3 separate regions of the Homo sapiens genome follow, and regions 1 and 3 are each linked to region 2. The links are contacts of gene promoters, found by promoter capture Hi-C in blood cells and fetal thymus (Javierre and others, 2016). All regions are on one chromosome and are shown on one strand. Each heading gives the region's core, a stretch centred on a gene start or on the middle of the fragment in contact. The rest is flanking DNA. Distances are from core to core; before and after follow the strand shown.

Region 1 (2,723 bases), core at 29-2,528, 3.7 Mb before region 2:
CTCATAAAAATGAAGATTTATAAAGTTCATAAGGAAGCATAACAGCTTCATCGCATATTAGAATATTCAGTGATGCTGTATGACACACCCTCTGGTTTCCTTGAAAAAATGATTCGCTCTGTAGTGAAATTAAACCTCCCTTGTGCAGGTATATGCTTGTTTCAAGCTTGGTCCTTAGCTTGAAAAGTAACTGCCTCTTGAGGAAGGAATTCATGAACCTTTAGCTCGTTCTTGAAAGATGAGATTGGTGTAAAGAAGGGATCTGTTCACAACTTGGTTTTGATTGGAACTAGGTGCAGAATCCTAGGCTAAGCCGTTCATCAAACTAATGTTATATGGAAAGCATTTTAAAATGCAATATCCTGATGTTTTACAGAAAGTGACCTTTATGTTACTTTGGCTAAGGAGAAAGCATTTGCCTTTGTTTGAAGCTACGTCCTTTCCCTGAAGATTGCAACTCATAGGAGAAAATATTTTTGACACAAAAAATTATAGTTTCCTTCAGGAAAGGGAACAAAACAGAGAGAGCCTGTAAGCTAATGGAGGAGAAAGAATAAACAAAAATATTTAAGATGCCATAATGAGAATAAACAGTTTTGAGATGTAAAATAATTGGGAGAGCCCACTTCAGATATAGATCTCATAGATAGGAAGGTTTAATCGATGAGATGATTCTAAATTTAAAGATGAGAAATATCTTTGTTCAGTCTTGGTTTTACTAGGAGTTACCTGGGAACTAGAATACTTGCAACATCTGAATTAGTGAACACAAGATCCTCTCTAGGACTTCAGGGAGAGCCTGTCAGTTTTGAAATTCAGTTTGATAGTTTGCCCCGGTAACAGACATACTTCATCTTCCTAATATGGGAATAATTTTTTTTTGCCTTCCTTCTAATCATGACTATTGCCTTAATATAATAAATGCAAGTTTAAATTGGTACATTAGATTCTTTTTAACGTAAGGAATTGTGTCCATTGAAGACGAGATTAGTAGGTACATAGAGGTTGCTATCTGGTCATAAAGAACTGCATTGTGATTGCTACTGATGTATCTTATTTTTTCTGATTAATTTTATTTTTATTTTTTGAGAAGAAATTTCACTCTTATTGCCCAGGCTGGAGTGCAATGGCGCAATCTCGGCTCACCATAACCTCCACCTCCCATGTTCAAGCAATTCCCCTGCCTCAGCCTTCCTGAGTAGCTGGGATTACAGGCATGCGCCACCACGCCTGGCTAATTTTGTATTTTTAGTGGAGACGGGGTTTCTGCATGTTGGTCAGGCTGGTCTCGAACTCCCGACCTCAGATGATCCACCCACCTCAGCCTCCTAAAGTGCTGAGATTACAGGCGTGAGCCTCCGTGCCCAGCCGATTCTTACATCTCTTTAAAAGGAAGACGGTCCACCCTTCTTTGTTTCTCCATCCTGCTGTCTAGATGATGATAGGATTCCTGGAGTTCCAGCATCTGTCCTGGAACATAAGGATTAAAGCCACCTGCTAAGGATGTGGACTATAGAAGGGGCCTGGGCCTCTGATAATCTGCTAACTTGCCATAACCACCTATCTCAAGACTTACACGAGAAATAAATTCTGCATTGTATAAGTCTGTACTATATTGGACTTTTCTGTTATGTGTAGCCAAACTAATCTTGAATAATGTATTTCCAGAACTGATAGTCTCTGTGGTGGTGGCAGCTACCTGTTTACATAACCCTTATCACCCCCTAATGTATTTTTTTTAATTGCCTGTTTCTTCCCACTAGACTTTTTAAGGGCAGGGACTTTGCTTGGATTTTTCTATCTCCAGCCCCTTGAACAGAGCTCACCATATAGTAGGCGTTCAGTAAATATTTGCTAAATGAATGAATGGTGCTTGGAACTAAGTAGATCTTTAATTCATTGTAATTTAATGCTCTAAGATAGGCAGCTTGGGGCAAGAACAAACGGATTCTAATTTACTCTATGTTTTCCACTTTTCCCATGTAGAGTACAGTCATATATTACCCTTAAATCAAGTAATAGTAGTATAATCTGTAATGTAAAAAGTTTGCGTTAAATTCTTTATTAAACATGACTAAGCATTCTGTCCTGATATATCTAAAAGAAATGGGAGAAAGTTTCTAATTTGTTCCCTGTGAAGACTGAACAAAATAAATCATTAAGCAATTTAAATTGCATTAAGAAACTATGTCTAGATTAGAGAAGAGACATGTAATTATGATCCAGGCTCTGTAGTAAAGATGCCTCTATTTGAATCCCAGCTTTACCATTCACCAGCTCTGTTAACTTGGACAAGTTACTTAACCTCTCTGCACTGTTTTTTTTCTGTTAAGCAAGGAAACGAACAGCCCTTTCTTACTAGGTTGTGAGGTCTAATTTGATAAAGCTTGGCAGGTACTAGTATTAATACAATGCTTAAAATTTAGTGAACACATTCTAAATGTTAGCTATTCGTTTTTTGAAATTATTTTATTATTAGGAAGGACTTTACAGATTATTCTCTATCAAAATGTCTTGCAATTTCTATGTATGAAATCTTTAAGAATTCAGTAAAATTTTAGTTCTTTTTTCTTATATGCTTACATGATTGCTACCTCTTCTCTTCATGCCTTGCAAAAGGTAAAGCAGGACAGTATGCCACTGTCCTCAGGGGCTTGTCACATTTTGGAATTCAGGTTACCTGGTTGGTTCGCCAACTCAGCTCTTAGGTACCTTTAAAAAAT
Region 2 (2,700 bases), core at 47-2,546:
ACAGGCGTGAGCCACCGCGCCCGGCCAGCATTTCCTTTTAATGTTCATATCCAACAATGAGGAGAGATGAGGAGCAGGGAGTCTGGGGGATGGGCATGGAGAAGGTAAGGAAGAGGTGAAATGCAGGCAGTACATATGTACTTGATGGAAGACACGAAACATAAGGCCAGAGAAACTAGACGATCAGAAGAGGGACTGGAAGAGGAAAGAGAATGGTTGAAAACGAACTGAGAAACTAAAGGGAAGAAAGCGAGGAAACAGAGGGAAAGAGGAAATGCTTACATGGGGGCAAGTACTGTTCTGTCCTTACCACTAAAGATCTGGCACGTGATCTGGTCTCCCTCTCACTTGACTCCAGCCAGACTGATCTTCTTGCTCTTGAACATTCATTCCTTCATCTGGACCCTTCCACTTGCTGCTCTTCCTGCAGGCATCTCCCAGGCCTGTCCTTCCTTCCTTCAAGTGGTCTCCCTAACCACACTCTACATGAAATAGCACCTCCCTTACCCTTATTTTCCTTACTCTGCTTTATTTATGCTTGAAGCTCCAGTCACCATCAGACAGAATTTCTGTGTTTTGGCTACCGGCTGTTGGCTGACATATACCCGCTCCTAGAACGTAAACTCCACGGGAACAGGGACTTTGTTTTGTTCTCTGCCGTATCTCCAGCACCTACAACACTGCCTGACACCCTGCTGGGTGACCGATATACGCCGGATGGCTCAGGGAGTGGGTGCAGGTCGAGGAAAGGGTATAGCAAGAGGTATGTCCGGGAGGGATGTTTAGGGTGTGCTTTTAGTCCAACAGAAAAGCACTCTCCATCCTTTTTCTATTTCTCTCCTCTCCTTCTCCCTCCCTCCGCACTTCAGAGGTTGGGGAAAAGCTGCGGGAAAGCAGGAAATAAGGAAAAATCCTAAATTGCCCAGCTCGAATTCCAATGAAAAATTAATGAGCGAGGAAGACAGGGAGGCAGGGAATAAGTGCACATGCAAAAGTTAAGGAAGCCAGTGGAAAGCAAAGAAAAAGGCGAACAGACGTCACTCTCTCTGGTCACGCTCCCCGACTCCCCAGAGGACAGGCGAGGCGCTTCTGGCACACGCCCCCGTCGCCCCGCGGCCGCGCGGCGTCACCACCACTTCGGAGAAGGCCAGGCCCCTCTTCCCCCGCGGGCTTCCCCGCGCCCGCACCGCCGAGGCCCCGGCACGCGCCCGGGGGAGCCGCGAAGACGGCGGGGACTACAGCTCCCAGGATGCCGAGCACAGGCGCGCCTGCGCAGTGCGGTCGGAGGCGGCGGTCTGTTCTCCGCTGAGGAGGAGCGGGGCAGAGGAGGGAGGCAGCGGGTGAGAGTTCAGAGTTCAGCAGCAGCAGCCCGAGCCCATGATTCCCATATGCCCTGTAGTTTCTTTCACCTATGGTGAGTCTAATGTGGCCCGCGAGGCCTCTGCCCGGCCCCCTCCCTGGCCCCGGGCAGCGGGGAGCCGCGGGGGTTGGGGCAGGCTCCGGGGAGGAGGCGGCGGCCGCCACCCGGGCGTGCGAGTGAGTGAGGGAGTGCGAGGCGGGAGGGGGAGGCGGCGCGGCCGCGGCCTGGGCCCCGCCAGGGCTGCTCTCACGGCGCCTCTCTCTTTCTCTCCCTGCCCTCCCTCGGCGTCTCGGCTCCTCTGTGTCTCTTGTCCCGCCATGGGACCCGACTCTTCGTGCCCGCCGCAGTGCCCAGCCGGCTGGGGGAAGATGCCAAAATGGCGACCGGCAACTACTTTGGATTCACCCACAGCGGGGCGGCGGCGGCGGCGGCTGCGGCCCAATATAGGTAACGGCATCCTGCCTTCTCTCTGTTCGCCCCTTGCTCTCCCCTCGGTCCGGATCCTGTCGATGCGACGCCCCCGCGCCCGTCCCCAGCCATCCCAGAGCCCCGGCCCGCTGCAGGCCTGGCCCGGCCCAGCCCGGCGGCCTCTCCCGCCCCGCCCCGCCCCGCCCCGCCTTGCCCGGCCCGGCCCGGCCCGCGGCGGGGAGCGGCCCCCAGTAGGGGGGAGGTAGAGACGGCGGAGGTGTAGGGACGTGGAGGCCTCAGGGCCCTTCAGCGGCCCCTTAACTAAAATGGCCTCCTGCGGCCGCCGAGCGGAGCCGCCACCGCCGCCCGGCAGGCCCCCCAGTCCCCGCCTCCGCGCGTCCAGCCCCCACCTCCCATCTTCTTCCCACTTGGGGGATGGAGAGGGTGGCTGAAGGGACCTCACGGGGAGTGCCGTGTCGCAGGTCCACTGGCTTCTCGTGCGACGCCTCTCTGCGTCGTCGCCTGGTGCTTCAACCCCCGGAGCCCAGATAACGTGTCGTTGTCTCGGGTACCTTTTCCTCCGCCGTGGGGCTTCTTCCCCAGACGCTCCATCGCTAGCGAGTCCTGCTGACAAACTGCGGGTGTCACTGTGTTCATCGGGTTCCTTTAGTTTTTCCTGCAAGGAGAGAGATTCACATACCAACCACCTGTAAATTGTGTAGTTCTTAGACTGGAAAAGATGTGCGAAGTTTCTAGTGCTGATAAATGAGTGCCCAGCCTTGTTTGAGCTATGGAGTTTAGGCCCCAGGTGGGCCTGTCATTCTCCTTGCGGGGGTCTTTCCCCTGCGGGGAATGGTGGGGAGGGAAGAAGATGCAAGTGAGATTGTACTGAGTCATTGTAATGCACCGGATGAAATCCCTGCTTTAAGGGA
Region 3 (2,700 bases), core at 7-2,506, 3.8 Mb before region 2:
CCTTGCATGAGCAGTTTACAGTAGTGTTTGCATCCTATGAGAATCTAATGCTGCCTCTGATCTGACAGCAGGCAGAGCTCAGGCAGTAACGCAAATTATGGGAAGCAACTGTAAATACAGATGAAGCTTCACCCCCTTGCCTGCCGCTCCTCTCCTGCTGTGTGGCCCGGTTCCTAATAGGCCAGGGACCGATACTGGTCCACAGCTCGGGGGTGGTGGACCCCTGCTATACAGGTCTTAGAGTATTTGAATGTCATAAAAAGAGGTATATATGTCTTTCATAGAGTCAGAATGAACATGAAGTGGGGGTGGGAAGGGTTCTGGGGGTTGGGAAGGATATATTTTAAAACCTCTGTAAATCTTCAAGTTGTGAATACCACAGTGATATATAATTTTCCCCATAAAATGTTGAGAACAGTTAAGCTTGCTTGAGATATGGCTATCACATGGTTGGCTAGACTCATTTACTAGAAAAGCACACCAGCCTCACCATAGATGGAGTCTGAGTTTAAAACTCAAAAATCCATGAATGCCAGCAGTTTTGTTTGGGAGGGTGAGGTCGGCGGATTGCCTGAGCCCAGGAGTTCAGGACCAGCCCGGGGAACATTGCACAACACCCCATTTCTACAAAAATTTCTAAAAATTAGCAGGGTGGCTGGGCGTGGTGGCTCACGCCTGTAATCCCAGCACTTTGGGAGGCCGAGGCAGGCGGATCATGAGGTCAGGAGTTCTCAGGACCAGCCTGGCCAGGATGGTGAAACCCCGTCTCTACTAAATATACAAAAATTAGCCAGGCGTTGTGGCATGCACCTGTAATCCCAGCTACTCGAGAGGCTGAGGCGAGAATTGCTTAAACCGGGAGGCGGAGGTTGCAGTAAGTCGAGATGGTGCCACTGCACTCCAGCCAGGGTGACAGAGCGAGACTCCATCTCAAAAAAAAAAAAAAATTAGCAGGGCATGGTGACACGCATCTGTAATCCCAGCTACCTGGGAGGCTGAGGTAGGAGGATTGCCTGAGCCTGGGAGGTTGCAGCTGTGTGAGCCATGCGGTGCAGTGCCACTGCACTCCAGCCTAGGGGATAGAGTAAGACCCTGTCTCAGGAAAAAAAAAAAAAAAAGATATTTGTAAACTATGGCACTGGAAGGAAGAATTATTGAAATGATTAGCTAATGTTTAGCCTAATCAAGACTTGATATGGATAAGTTTTCTAACAGAGTGTTACCAAGATTTCTTAATTTCTACCAATCTAGTGGATATAAAATATTATTTCACAATGACATTATTTGTATTTCTCTAATTTCCAATAAGGTTATCTTTTCAAGTATTTATTCACTGTTTGTGTTTCTTCTAAAAAATTCCTGCTCACGCCTGGGCACAGTGGCTCACACCTGTAATCCCAGCACTTTGAGAGGCCGAGGTGGGTGGATCATGAGGTCAGGAGATCGAGACCATTCTGGCTAAGATGGTGAAACCCTGTCTCTACTAAAAATACAAAAAATTAGCCAGGCCTGGTGGCACGCACCTGTAGTCCCAGCTACTCTGGAGGCTGAGGCAGGAGAATCCCTTGAACTCGGGAGGCGGAGGTTGCAGTGAGCTGAGATTGCACCACTGCACTCCAGTATGGACGACAGAGCGAAACTCCATCTCAAAAAAAAAAAAATTCACAATTTTTGCAAAGCTAATCATGTCATTTTCTCCTTTTGGTTGCCTCCTAATATATGCAGGATAAAAGGCAGGTTCCTAAGCATGGATTTAACATTTTCCATTGTCTTTACCCTTGTCTACCTCTCTAGCCTCACTTCCCCATGTTGCCTGCCTCTCTCTAAATTCTCTAAAATTTCAAAATTGCTAGTTCATTGCTTCTATGCATTTGTTCATGGTGTTTCTTCTGTGGAATTTCCTTCTCATTCTTGCTGATAATGGCTAATATTGAATTCATTACTTAAGGCTTAGCTCTTCACATTCCCAAAAAGCCTTCTCTAACTCTTGTTAGGTTGACTTGAGACTTGCTCCTCCAAATTTCTCAGCATTCTGTGTATAACTCTATCACTGCATAGACTTTAGGCTCCTCAAGGGCATGGAAGCTTTTTATCATTTCATCTGTAGCACCTAGCAGGATGCCTGGCCTACAGTGACACTCAAATTTAATTTAATCTCCACGAATGTGTGTTACATGTGTAAGATTTAAGAGACATTATCTAAAAGGAAACTAGATAAGGATTGGAAATTCAAGAGAAAGATCTGGGCTAAAGATGCCAGTAATAGCTGAGGTCATGAAAGGGGCTAATATTTGCCAAGTGTCTACTGTGTAATGGGCACAGTGCTAAGCATCTGTGCATATATTCACAATTTTACAAGGTAGCAATTATATTTTATAAATGCAGAAGTAGTCTCAGGAAGGTTAAACAACCAGTTCAAGTTTCACAAAGCTAATAAACAATAAAACTGAGATTTGAACCAAGATCCTTCCATTACACAACACTGAATGAACTCAGGAGCGTGTGTGTGTGACAGAGAGAGAGAGAGAGAAGGAAAAAAGACGGAGAAGAAGAGACAAGGAGACGAGGACAGAAGACATCTTGGAGATGGGTTTAGGAAGAAGTCAAAAAGGGACATAGAGATGGGAGAAACACTGTTAGGGACTGGTATGTTGGGAGACAGTAAAAGATTTCAAGAAGAAATGATAACCATTTCAAATT

Evidence for each region. Contacts are between HindIII fragments. The CHiCAGO score rates a contact against its expected background, and 5 or more counts as called.
Region 1: a contact is called between a fragment that was not itself captured here and the fragment with the promoter of ZFR in region 2, in 3 of 17 cell types (total CD4 T cells, total CD8 T cells and naive CD8 T cells). The highest score is 6.3, in total CD4 T cells.
Region 3: a fragment that was not itself captured here is called in contact with the fragment with the promoter of ZFR in region 2 in 2 of 17 cell types (total CD4 T cells and naive CD4 T cells); the score reaches 6.7 in total CD4 T cells.

The regions. Positions count from the first base shown.
Region 1 is chr5:36,148,272-36,150,994 of GRCh38, reverse strand. All of the region lies in intron 1 of LMBRD2 (LMBR1 domain containing 2), which reads left to right. Among named protein-coding and RNA genes, the nearest start is that of MIR580, 1.6 kb to the right of the region's middle. The HindIII fragment of the contact is 2,220 bases long and covers 169-2,388 here.
Region 2 is chr5:32,443,336-32,446,035 of GRCh38, reverse strand. It overlaps ZFR (zinc finger RNA binding protein), which reads left to right and starts at 1,296. Exons shown (of 20, transcript NM_016107.5): 1 at 1,296-1,414; 2 at 1,708-1,807. The coding sequence starts at 1,378. RefSeq lists silencers at 994-1,683, 1,914-2,253 and an enhancer at 1,645-2,202. The HindIII fragment of the contact is 7,512 bases long and covers 1-2,700 here.
Region 3 is chr5:36,243,986-36,246,685 of GRCh38, reverse strand. All of the region lies in intron 1 of LOC124900962 (a long non-coding RNA gene), which reads right to left. Among named protein-coding and RNA genes, the nearest start is that of NADK2, 3.4 kb to the right of the region's middle. The HindIII fragment of the contact is 1,662 bases long and covers 426-2,087 here.